Regions from separate parts of the Homo sapiens genome. Here region 2 is linked to region 1. The links are contacts of gene promoters, found by promoter capture Hi-C in human tissues and cell types (Jung and others, 2019). All regions are on one chromosome and are shown on one strand. The core of a region is centred on a gene start or on the middle of the fragment in contact, and the rest is flanking DNA. Distances in the headings are between cores, read along the strand shown.

Region 1 (6,927 bases), core at 1,816-4,315:
TACAAAGATAAAATGGAAAATTAGTTTAAAAATTATAAAGCTCTATAAAACTGCAAAGGATATTTAATATTTCGTGTCCTAGTTAATGACCCACTTTTTAAGCAATAGTTAATAACATCAAAATCCAGGTCCAAGCAGAGAGTTTAAATTCTCTTTTAGAGTTTGTTATAACAGAATTCTTCCTGTCCTGGTTAGGTCTTACATAGCAGCAGTATAGATATTTTACTTAAATATTCCAGAGTGTTTTGTGTTTGCACAACAGATTTTGGTGCAGATGGGTTTGGGCAATATCCTTAAATCATACCCTCTGCTGCACTCATCTTAGGGCCAACCAACTCAGACATACTGAATTAATTAGCAAGCTCTTACTTAGCACCTACTTTGTGCCTAGTAATCCCCTGTGGGTAGGTAACCAGACACCCAGGTTTGTCTGGCACTGTTACTGTTTATGCTGTCTTTCCCAGGTAATTGCTAATAGTGCCCCTTTCACTTTCAAAAGTGTCCTAGTTTTAATGATCAATGGTCACACTACTATAATCACTTATGGGGCATGGAAGGAAACACAGGAAGCTTCTGGCTTACAAATGCCAGACTTATAAATTTCGCTCCCCATCCCACGTCCTCACCACTGGAACTACCGGTATTACTTCCAGGGTGGGGGGCATTGTGAAAACTATGGGTCTTTTAGAGACTTGGTGGACTTAGAAGTCAAGGCAGAACCAAGCCTGAGAAAAGGTGGTATGGATCTCCAGAGACCCACCCTACAAGTTGTCCTCCTTTGCAAAATCTTCTCCCTCAAACTATTTCTCTTTATTGCATTGCCTAATTCTCCTGGTCAGAGATTTATGTGAGGAAAGTAAGCACTGTATTTTTAATAGCACAAACAGGTTGGAGAATGTTCAATGAAACGTTTTTTTTTCCCTTCCTAACATGGAGCTGCTGTCTGCTTATACAGGGGAAAGGGAGGGTTTCTGGGAGGAATAGAGGTGAAAAGGAAAAAGTAATTTTGGAGCATGAGATATTCTGGGGAATGAGACTCTCCCTTAGGGCAAACTAGGGACCCAGGAGCCAGGGGGCCGTGAAGGTGGGAGGCAGAAGAGAAGGTGGATGTCAGAGACATGCAATAGTTATTTGGGGGAAAATGTTGATTTGTGCACAAGTCATATCTTGGGAAATGAAAGGAACGTTCTTTCTCTGTCACCTGCTGTTCCTCCTCACCCTCCACTGCCTTATACGGCCCAGTACGCAGAATTCAAGCCAGTGCTAGATTATGTGCTACATGCCTGACAGTGAGACTCATATTATAACATTGCTTCTGCAGGAGTTCTTGCGTGCAGTCAACGAGTTTACCATTACATCTTGGGACACGCTCATTTTAAAGTTGGGAACTGCCTGTATAAGACATGGTCCCTACCCTGGAGGGATTCACAGTGACTAGATTTAAGGTAGACCAGTTAATAAATGCGAAACTACTGGAGAATAATCAATGGTCAGCTGTAGGATATTGGCTTTAAGTAAAATGGAAATTTATGCTAGGGTGGTATGTCGGTTCATTGAAATTCTCACATAGGACAGTATGACTGATCTATGCTAAGAATATACTTGGCTAGTAAGAGGAGGAAGAAGAAAACTCTAGTGATGGAAATCACCTGGAGCCAACGTTTGGCATCAGACATGAGCATGGACAGGATAGGCTGCAAGGAGGAATCAGGCATGATGGAAGCAAAATGGCTTTCTAAGAAGCAGTGGGAGATTGGAATGGCTAAAGTAAGATGGGGTCAAACATTTCCTGTAAATTAAAGACAGGAACATAAAACATATCACTTGAAATTTGTACACATTTCATGTGACTGAACACTTTGAGGCAATAAATCTTGACATACTTTTTCAGGGGCATGAGTTAATGTGGCTAAAGTTCAGATGAGGTGAGGATCAGATATTGGAAGAATGGGAATCCATATTAAGGACTTTGGATTTGATGAAAGAGTCCATTTATGGTGTTACTGGAAATATTTCACTAGGGCTGGAACATTGGCCTGCGGCTGGCACACAGGATGAAGGTGGAATAAGTCAGGGAGACCACTTAGGAAGCTGCTATGATAGGCCAAAGTGGGAAGCTGAGTACCTGGACCAAGATGGAAGCAGCAGATTGGAGAAAGAACACATCTGAAAGTCGCTGTGGAGATGGAAATGATAGGACTTAGAAATCACATGGGAAGAGCCAGAGAAAGTCCTTAGGTTTCTCCGGGTAACTTAAGCATAATAGGAACACTATTAGAAGTTCATGTTCCCATGAAAGTTCCTTACCTGTGGAGCCTCCCATGCCCTCCTGGTGAACCTCCATTTCTAAGGAAACCCTATAGCATTTACTGAGTATCTTAATTCTCCAAAAAATCAGACTTCTCCAAAGAAAGTCTTTAAGCATGTATTCACTAACTTGATTTTGCAAAATTACGTTAGCAAATACGTGCTATAAGGTTTCTAACCCGACAGACAAAAGCATGTAAATCATTTTACTGCTAGTTTTGGTGGAGGGTAGTGACAACTGCCAGTGTTTCAAAAAAGAGTAACATATCCAGAGTTTGTTCACACAGAAATGAATGCTTTTTAGCTTCATAACCCCTGTGCCCTTCCCGTGAGCCCCATCTCCCCAGGAAACGATATAGTACCAATTTACTAACTTAATTTGTAAAAGGAGGTTAGTGAATCAATTCTGTAAGACTCATGGAAATATTTGAAATTAATTAGCCTTGTCAGCTTTTATTTGCATAGGCTCTCTTCCAACCATATCCCCCAGCCCAAGTACAACGTTTTAGTAAGATTGATTTTAAACAATGAGACTTAGAGAATCTGTGTACAAGGAGCTTGAATAATTTAAATGCGTGGGTTTATTATTAACACAGTAGCAAATATATCAAGGAAACACGCCCCATGAAAAGTGTTTCAAAGAAACACAAATCTGTACTGAAAAAAGTCTATACGCAATAAGTAAGCCCAAAGAGGCATGTTTGCTTGGCGATGCCCAGCAGATAAGCCAGGCAAACCTCGGTGTGATCGAAGAAGCCAATTTGAGACTCAGCCTAGTCCAGGCAAGCTACTGGCACCTGCTGCTCTCAACTAACCTCCACACAATGGTGTTCGCATTTTGGAAGGTCTTTCTGATCCTAAGCTGCCTTGCAGGTAAGGAAAGGATCTCCAAACCACCAAATATAATTGGAAACAGAGTTTCCTTTTAAATAAAAATTCCACATTTTTACATAGAATTTTCATCTCCTGTACTTCAAATGAATTGTGATTAGTATGATGAGTTAATTTTCAGAACTCTTGCTTAGCAAACATATGCCATGCTGATATATTAGGGGTGTAAGCCCATAATATTATTGTTTTATGGAGCTTCTGAATGAAAATTTTCTCAGAAAAAAATATAGTTTATTACTTTACTTACTTTGAAAAGTGAAAAAAATGAATTTACTCAGAAACCAAACTTTGTGCTAGGGATAATTTTGTCTCTGTTTTACTTACTTTAGTGTTTCCTTTAAGCTCAGTGATTGACTTGCTCTAGCAGGCAGAGCCTGGGTTGGAGGGCCTGCCCTGGCTTACATATGGGAAGAACAGAAATTTACTGAGTACTTTACTGTCTAATATTTCTTAAGGAGTTGTGGTTTTCCAATCCTAAGACTGTATTTTGCAAAATATGTGAGTGATTTATGGTGCACAACATGGGTGATTTTAGGTATCTGAACAGAAGAAAATCAATTTTGGAATCAAAATACTGATGTTAGTTAGATCCAGGAGAGATCATTAATTCCAAAAATCCCTTGGGTAGTTTTCAAATATCAGATACATTTTGCATCTGTTCTTATAAGTTAGGTCCATAGTAAATACAATAATATTGTTTATCCAAAAACAGGATTTTCAAGCCATTAGTAATATTAGGCAGTGGTTAGAATGAGGTTTACTAGGCGTATTAATGACATAAGAAAATACCCACGATAAAATATTAAGTGAAAAAGCAGGATGCACACATATGCCTAGAATAAATTACTAGAAGGTTATATACCGAAGTGCTCATGGTGGTTGCCTCTGGGTGATGGGATTATAGATGATTTTAATTTTATTTCCCAGCTTTTCATACTTCCTGGGTTTTCTACGAAGAACATTATGCTATTTTTATAATTAGAAAAAAGTGTTACTTTTCAAAGTGATCTCATGTTTAGAAATAGTTCTTTAAATGTTCATTACTAAATGTTTAAGCATAGATGTTTTATGGAGTTAAACATCACCAGAAGGCAATACTCCATTTGTCCAGTGACCTAACTAGGCCCTAGAGCTGGAAACACATGTTCCTATTTTCCCTTCTCCCCAGGCATATTCATTTAAATGTAACTTTAGATATGGAAGTTTTGTCTCTTCTTAAAGGGTTTCCAGTCATTAGCCAGTTGGGTCGACCCCTGGGCCTTCTGCATCAGCCCTCTAAGATCATACCTGTTTCCCTATGTGAAGCCTTGCCCTGGCCCATACTAGGCACAGGGTTTGGAACGGTTGTTAAGAACAGTTTTTTTTTTTTTTAACTGTACCTAACATACAAGTAATTTTTACTGATTATAAATGTAATGCATGGTCATTGTAGAAAGGTTGGAAATATGGAAATTTAAAATAAAATAAAAATCATCTGCAATTTTACCACTCAGATTTGGGTGAATTATTATTCTTTTATTTGCAGGTGTATATATTACATTTTAAAAATTGGGTTTATTCCTTGTATACTTTTTTATTGTTTAAAAAAATTGTTTAGCATCATGTCAGGATTTTATTTTATTGTGACTTTTAGAACAAGACCAATAAATACTTCAGAGTGTGTTTCCTAAGTTACTATATAACTGATTTTGTTGGTATATAGTGTACACTATATATCTACACACATATTATCTAGTTGGCCCAAAGCAGTAGTGTCAGTACAGCAAATTGTGGTATGCTCTATTGTCGTTTGCTGTGCTTACATATGTATTGAAGTCAGAGAAAGGATCACTTTAGTAATCTACACCTGTCATTAGCAGTGTTCATCAGTTGATCTGGACAACTGATAGTGTTTCCATCAATGTGCAATTTGATGTTCTTCCTGGACTTGTTTTGGAGAGAATGTCACTTTTTGGTGTTAAGCGTGGTGCCTAACACATAGTGGATGCATAGTAAATGTTTGTTGAAAGAATGAATTACTTTCCCAAATTCCAAACATCCAGACATCATTTTCACATACATATTTAAAATTGATTTTGATATAACTAAACAGGTCAGATTTTGCTTAAATCAAAATATTTTCAATGACTTCTTAGGAATTCTTAGGTTAAATTCTAATTCAGGAAAACGAGTTTTAATCAAACTTCTGCAAAAAATTTATGCATATCATTTTAGGTATTTGAAATATGTATTAGTCACCTCTTAGAAAGATATGTTAATGTGGGTTTCATTTTCTGGAGGTATATGCTATGCATTTTAAAGGAGTAATATATTTGAACTTTGAGTTTGCACTCAAATCCAAAAAAGTGAGTGATCATTTGATTATATTATTTCCTAAGTCAAAATGAATCTATTATATATGAAGTTGCTGGAAATTAAATCACTTCAAATCTATCAGATTAAATATGAATATTTGGGGGATATTTTGCTGTGGTACATTAGGAGGATAATAATCCTTCTATAAGCAAAATGTTTGCCACCTTGTAGGCATTAAATGAATGAACAATCACCACCAAAATACAAGACATTCTCTCTCTCTCTCTCTCTCTCTCTCTATATATATATATATATACATATATATATACATATATATACACATATATATATACATATATATATACACATATATATATACACATATATATATATACACACATATATATATATACACATATATATATACACATATATATATATACACATATATATATATATATACACACACATATATATATATATATATATATATATATATATATATATATACACATATATATATTCTTTTGAGACGAAGTTAAGTCTTGTTGCCCAGGCTGGAGTGCAATGGCACGATCTCGGCCCACCGCAACTTCCGCCTTCCGGGTTCAAGTGATTCTACTGCCTCAGCCTCCTGAGTAGCTGGGATTACAGGCATGCACCACCACGCCCGGCTAATTTTGTATTTTTGGTAGAGACAGGGTTTCTCCATGTTGGTCAGGCTGGTCTTGAACTCCCAACCTCAGGCGACCCGCCCACCTCAGCCTCCCAAAGTGTTGGGATTACAGGCGTGAGCCACTGCGCCCAGCCTAAAAATATTTTTAAATGTTGATTAAGTGTGTACATCTTGGATTATTTTTCTTTAATAATAAGCACTTTTTTAATTATTATTATACTTTAAGTTTTAGGATACATGTGCACAACGTGCAGGTAAGCACTGGTTTTTAAAAGAGATTACACATATTTCAACCACATATGCATTTTTGTTTTGTTTTTAAATTTGGTCAAGTCAGAGAGGGACATTGCGTTCTTGGGTTTTGTTTAAATCAGATACTAATCTTTACTTTGCTATTTATTCACAGTCCTATTGATGTAGAGATTTTTCTGACTTATTCAATTTTTAAATAATTTCTCAACTTAGAATGACTTAATCCAAAGGAAGGGAACTTTTTTCCCTGACACTCAGAGAATCACCTCCACTTTAGGACTAAGTTTGCACTGCCCATTGTCTACATGTGGCTATTGAAATTTAAATCACTTCAGATTAATGAAAATTATAAAGTCAGTTCCTCAGTTTCACTAGCCACATTTCAAGTGTTTGATAATTCTATTTGGGCTACTGAACTGGATGGCGCAGAGATAGAACATTTCCATCATCACAGGAAGTTCTGTTGGACAGCACTGTAAGGGTGAGCTCAGAGGTTTTAAGTAATG
Region 2 (6,927 bases), core at 1,504-4,003, 39 kb before region 1:
ATGAAATATGATACCTGCCAAAAAACACACTTAAGTACATAGCTCACAGACCCTATAAAGCAACCATACAATTGAAAGTACAAAGAAACCAGCTAACAACTTCACACTTTTCTCAAAACCTCACATATTAATGTTGACCTTGAATATAAATGATCTAAATGCCCCCACTTAAAAGGCACAGAGTGGCAAGTTGGATTAAAAAAAGATCCGTCCATCTTCTGTCTTCAAGAGACTCATCTCACACTTAATGATGTTCATAGGCTCAAGGTAAAGGGTTGGAGAAAGGTCTATCACATAAAAGGGAAACAAGCAAGAGCAGGAGTCACTATTCTTACATCAGATAAAAGAGACTTTAAACCGACAACAGTAAAAAAAGACAAAGAAGGGCATTACATAATGTCAAAGGGTTCAATTCAACAAGAAGACTTAATTATCCTAAATATATGCACACACCAACATTGCAACACCCAGATTCATCAAACAAGTACTTCTAGATCTATGAAAAAGCTTAAATAGTCACACAATAATAGCGGGGGACTTCAATACCCCACTGACAGCATTAGACAGATCATCAAGCAGAAAACTAACAAAGAAATTCTGGACTTGAGAATTGAAACCAAAATGACACTTGACCAGTTGGATCTAATAGACATCTACAGAATACCCCATCCACTAACTGCACAAAATATACATTCTTCTCAACTGCATACTAAACATACTCTAAGAAAGACCACATGCTTGGCCGTAAAGCAAGTTTCAATAAATTAAAAAAAAATTAAACTCATACCAGCCATACACTTGGAACACAGTGGAATACAAATAGAAATCAATACCAAGAAGATCTCTCAAAACCACACAATCATATGGAAATTAAACGGTTGGCTCCTGAATGGCTTTCGGGTAAACAATTAAATTAAGGCAGAAATTAAAAAAAATTTGAAATAAATAAAAACAGAAACACAACATGACAACATCTCTGGGAGACAGCAAAAGCAGTGTTAAGGGGAAAGTTCATAGCACTAAATGCCTACCTCAAAAAGTTAGAAAAATCTCAAATTAATGATGTGACATCACACTTAGAGGAACTAGAAAAACAAGAACAAACTAACTGAAAATCTAGCAGAATAAAATAAATCAGGGAAAAATTGAGAAAAATTGAGACCAAAATTTCATAAAAAGCATTAAATAACAAACCAAAAGTGTATTTGAAAGGATAAACAGGATTGAAAGAATGCTAGCTACATTGACAAAGAAAAAAGAGGGAAGATCCAAATAAGCACAATCATAAATGACAAAGGTGACATTATAACTGATCCAAGAAATACAAAAGATCCTCAGAGGTTATTATGAACACCTCTATGCACACAAACTAGAAAATCTAGATGAAATGGGTAAATTCCTGAAAACACACAACCTTCCAAGACTAAATCAGGAAGAAACGGAAACTCTGAACAGACCAATATAGAGTTCTGAAATTGAATCAGGAATAAAAAGCCTACCAATCAAAAATGCCCCAGACCAAATGGATTCACAGCCAAATTCCACCAGATGTACAAAGAATAGCTAGTACCAATTCTAGTGAAACTATTCCAAAAAATTGAGGAGGAGGAACTGCTCCCTACTCATTCTATGAAGCCAACACCACCCTAATACCAAAACCTGGCAAAGGCACAACAAGAAAAGAAAACTACAGGCCAACATCCCTGAGAAACATAGATGCAAAAATCCTCGAGAAAATACTAGCAAACTGAATCCAGCAGCACAACAAAAAGTTAATTTATCGCAATCAAGTAGGCTTCATTTCTGGGATGCAATGTTGGTTCAGCAAAGCAATAAAAGTGATTCACCACATAAATAGAATTAAAAACAAAAACCATATGATCATATTGATAGATGTGGGAAAAGCTTTTGATAAAGTCCAATACCCTTCATGATAAAAACCCTCAATATATTAGGCGTTGAAGGAACATACCTCAAAATAATAAGAAACATCAATGACAAACCCACAGCCAACATCATACTGAGCAGGCGAATGCTGGAAGCATTCCCCTTGAGAGTAGGAACAAGAAAAGGATGCCTACTCTCACCACCCCAATTCAACATAATACTGAAATTACTAGCTGGTGCAATCAGGCAAGAGAAAGAAAGAAAATGCATCTGATATAGTTTAAATATTTGTCTTCTCCAAATCTTATGTTAAAATGCAATCCCCAATGTTGGAGGTTGGGCCCAGTTGGAGGTGTTTGGATTATGGGGGCAGATCTCTCATGAATGGCTTGGTGCCGTCTTGGTGGTAAGGAGCAAATTCTCACTCTATGAGTTCATGTGAGATCTGGTTGTTTAAAAGAGTGTAGGACACCCTCCATCTGCTTCCTCTCTTGCCGTGTGATGTGCTGGCTCCCCCTTCACCTTCCACCATGATTGTAAGCTTCCTGAGGTCCTCACCAGGAACATTTGTGGGCACCATGCTTCCTGTACAACATGCAGACCATGAGCCAAAATAAAACCTTTTTTTTCCTTACAAATTAAATTACCAAGCATCAGGTATTCCTTTATAGCAACACAAAAACAGACTAACACAGAATCCAAATAGGACAAGAAGTCGAACTGTCTCTCTTCACTGATGATACGATTCTGTACCTAGAAAACCTTAAAAACTCCAGTGAAGGGCTATAAAACTGATCAAATATTTCAGTACAGTTTGAGGATACAAAATCATTGTATAAAAATCAGTAGCATTTCTATACATCAATAACACTCAAGCCAAGAGCCATTTACAGGAACCACACACACACAAATAAAAACCTAGGAATACATGTAACCAAGGAGATGAAAGATCTCTACAATGAAAACTATAAAACACTGCTGAAAGAAATCATAAATGACACAAATGGAAAAACATTCCACACTCATGGGTTGGAAGAATCAATATTTGTAAAAATGACCACATTGTCCAAAGCAATCTATAGATTCAACACTATTCCTATCAAGCTACCAAAATAATTTTTCACAGAATTAAAAAAAAATTGTAAACTTCATATCGAACCAAGAAAGACCCTGAATGGCCAAAGCAATCCTAAACAAAAAGAACAAAGCCAGAAGCATCATATTACCTGACTTAAAATTATACTATAAGCTACAGTAGCCAAAATGGCCTGGTACTGGTATAAAAACAGCGTATAGACCAATGGAACAAAATGGAGAACCCAGAAATAAAGCCATACACCTACAGCCATCTGATCTTTGACAAAGTTGACAAATATAAGCAATGAGGAAAGGACTTCCTATTCAATGAATGGTGCTGGGATAGCTAGCTAGCCATATGCAGAACAAGGAAACTGGACCCCTATATTTCACCAAATACAAAAAATAACTCAAGGTGGATTAAAAATTTAATGTAAGACTTCAAACTAAGAATCCTAGAAGAAAACCTAGGAAATACCTTTCTGGACATCAGCCTTGGGAAATAATTTGTGACTAAGTCCTCAAGCAATTGTAACAAAACCAAAAATTGACAAGTGGGGTCTACTTAAATAAAGAGCTTCTGCACAGCAAAAGGAACCATCAATAGAGTAAACAGACAACTCACAGAATGGGAGAAAATATCCACAAAGTACGCATCTGACAAAGTCTAATATCCAGAATCTATAAGGAACAATTATAAGAAGCAAAAAACCTAATTACTCCATTAAAAAGTGGGCAAAAGACATGATCAGACACTTTTCAAAAGAAGGCATATGAGCGGCCAATAAACATAAGAAAAAATGTTCATCATCACTAATTATTAGAGAAATGAAAATCAAAATCCTCTCACACTAGTCAGAAGGAATATTATTAAAAAGTTAAAAAAAAAAAAACAACAACAGATACTGGCAAGGCTGCAGAGAAAATGGAATGTGTATACACTGTTGTTGGGAATGTAAATTAGTTCAGCCACTGTGGAAAGCAGTTTGGAGGTTTCTCAAAGAAGTAAAAACAGAATTACCATTTTACCCAGCAGTCCCTTTACTGGGTATAGTCCCAAAAGAAAACGAATCGTTCTATCAAAAAGACACATGCACTCATGTGTTCATCACAGCACTATTCACAATAGCAAAGATATGGAATCAATCTGGGTGCCCATCAGCGCTGAATTGGTTAAAGAAAATTTGGTACATATACACCATGGAATACTGTGCCGTCATAAAAAGAACAAAATCATGTGCTGTGCAGCAACATGGATGCAGCTGGAGACCATTATCCTAAGCGAACTAGTGTAGGAACAGAAAACCAAATACCACATATCTTGTTCTAAGCGGGAGCTAAACATTGGGTACACATGGACATAAAGATGGCAGCAATAAAGGCCAGGCTCAGTGGTTCACGCCTGTAATCCCAGCACTTTGGGAGGCTGAGGTGGGTGGATTGTTTGAGCTCAGGAATTTGAGACAACATAGTGAAACCCCATCTCAAGAAAAAAAAAGAGATTAGCTAGGCATGGTGGCACACGCCTGTAGTTCCAGCTACTTGGGGAGCTGAGGCGAGATTTCTTGAAACCAGGAGGTCGAGGCAGCAGTGAGCTGAGATCACCCACTGCACTCCAGCCTGAGTGACAGAATAAGACCCTGTCTCAAAACACACACACACACAAACCTACAAAAGATGGCAACAATAGAAACTGGGGACTACTGGAGGGGAAAGGAGGAAGGGTGGCAAAGTTTGAAAAATTAACTGTTGAGTACTATGATCACTACTTGGGAGAAGGGATCATTTGTATCCCAAACCTCAGCATCATGCAATATACTCATGTAACAAACCTGCATATGTACCTCCTGAGTCTAAAATTAAAATTGAAATTATATAAAAAAGTAGTGGATTGAGAGGTAAACAGGAGGCCTGGAAGCAAGACACTAGGAAGATACAATTCTTTTAAGAAGTTTGGCTGTGAAGGGGAGAAGGTAACTTGAGTAATGTGTGGAGTTCAGTAAGTTTTTTGGTTTTCGTTTGTTTTAGTGGAGATATGGAAACGTATTTAAACCTATTGGGAAAGGTCTAATGGAGTGGAAAATGTTAAAAAAAAAAAAACTGGAAAGGTAAAGGACCACCAATAGTGCAAGGCTCCTGAAAGATAGAAGATCCAAAGTACGCGTGGGGGATTGCCATTGGAGAGACATAGTAACAACCTTTCTATTCTTTTTTTTGTTGTTGTTAAATAATTGAGATATGGTCTTACTCTGTTGCCTAGGGTGGAGTGCAGTGGTGCTATCACAGCTCACTGCAGCCTCAACCTCCCAGGGCTTGGGTGATCCTCCCACCTCAGCCTCTTGAGTAGCAGGGATCATAGGTGTGTGCCACCACACCCAGCTAATTTGTTGTACTTTTTGTTGAGATGCTGTTTTACCATGTTGCCCAGGCTTGTCTCAAACTCCTGGACTCAAGCAATTCATCCTCCTTAGCCTCCCAAAGTCCTGGGATTACAGTCCTGGGAGTGAGCCACAGTGCCCAGCCAGTAACAGCTTTTCTAATGTAACAGAAGAGAATAAGATGAGAATGGAAGCAGATATTTTTCTCTGTGAAGTAGGAAGAACTGCTGAGAGCAGAGGAGGATGTGAGGGAAGGAGGTGTGTCAGGGAGAACTAGGATTTGACGAGACAAAGAATGTTTGAAATATTTGTTCTGGAGAATTGATTGTCCAGCAGTGCTGGCAACCTATTTCAGACTGATGATCTTAAACTTCTTGTAAACGAGTATGCCCTATTGTGAATTTTTCTAGCAGTGCTCAGGTGCAGGTATCAAAAACACAGTGTATTAGTCCGTTTTCACACTGCTGATAAAGACATACCTGAGACTGGGCAATTTACAAGGAAAGAAGTTTAATGGAGAACTCACAGTTCCACATGGCTGGGGAAGCCTCATAATCACAGTGGAAGGCAAGGAGAAACAAGTCACATCTTACGTGGATGGCAGCAGGGAAAGAAAGAGATTGTGCAGGCAAATTCCCGTTTTTAAAGCCATCACATGTTGCGAGACTTATGCACTATCACAAGAACAGCACAGGAAAGACCCACCCTCATGATTCAATTATCTCCCACTGGGTACCTCTCACAACACGTGGGAATTATGGGAGATACAAAATGAGATTTGGGTGGGGACATAGAGCCAAACCATATCATACCGAATTGTGTTTAGCAAGGTAGAAGTTTTACAAAACAAGTTCAAGGCAAGGGAGCTTAGAGTACTGTCAAGAGTGTTATCAAAATGATGAAGCATGGGATCTAAGTTAAGTAATGAGGGAAATAAAAAAGGAGATCCTTGATAGACTTGGAGGAAGTAGAAGGATCGATAAACTATAGGAGCTGAGAAATGATTGTAGTGTTAGTAGTTGAAAATCTGTGAATAGGGGGTTGTGGCTAGAGGATTGGATGGTACAATTCATGATTTAAACTAACTTGTAATTCTGGAGTGAAGTGGTTTCAGATAATAACAGGATCTCTGGTATGACTATCAGTGTGTGTGGCTAAGGTGAAAGAGAAAAGCCACCTGAGATATGGATTTCAAATAACTGAGTAGTCAGATGTTGCATTGTTTATCCTTGGGGATGTTGAAATCACTGAGGATAGTGGCAGATCTTGAGGTAGGAAGAAAGGATGTGAACAGGGGCCAAAGTCATTGATAAATGAAGGGGAGTGGCCCAAAGGTAAATCTAGGAATGACTAGAAGTGAAAGAGGGGATATAATTGAATGAACTCAAAGCATCAGGTTTGGGTTTTATAGTTTACACTTTTATTTCAGTAGCATAGGAATTTAATGGTCTGAAAGCAGAAATGGGGGCAAGGAGGACACCAACCCTACCCTTCATCTTGCTCTGAGGACAGAAAAGAAAAGCCCTACTCCAAAGGGCTGCAGTGGTGGCCCAGGTTTCACTTAAGGTCAGGGATGAAGGGAACT

Evidence for each region. The method cuts DNA at HindIII sites, captures the fragments that hold promoters and counts their contacts. A contact is called where the count stands out against the background at its distance.
Region 2: a fragment that was not itself captured here is called in contact with the fragment with the promoter of VSIG1 in region 1 in 2 of the 25 tissues and cell types used here (dorsolateral prefrontal cortex and ovary).

Annotation. Positions count from the first base shown.
Region 1 is chrX:108,042,000-108,048,926 of GRCh38, forward strand. VSIG1 (V-set and immunoglobulin domain containing 1) reads left to right here and starts at 3,066. Exons shown (of 7, transcript NM_182607.5): 1 at 3,066-3,180. The coding sequence starts at 3,132. The HindIII fragment of the contact is 11,178 bases long and covers 1-6,927 here.
Region 2 is chrX:108,002,818-108,009,744 of GRCh38, forward strand. No RefSeq gene overlaps it. Among named protein-coding and RNA genes, the nearest start is that of TEX13B, 24 kb to the left of the region's middle. The HindIII fragment of the contact is 6,858 bases long and covers 1-6,182 here.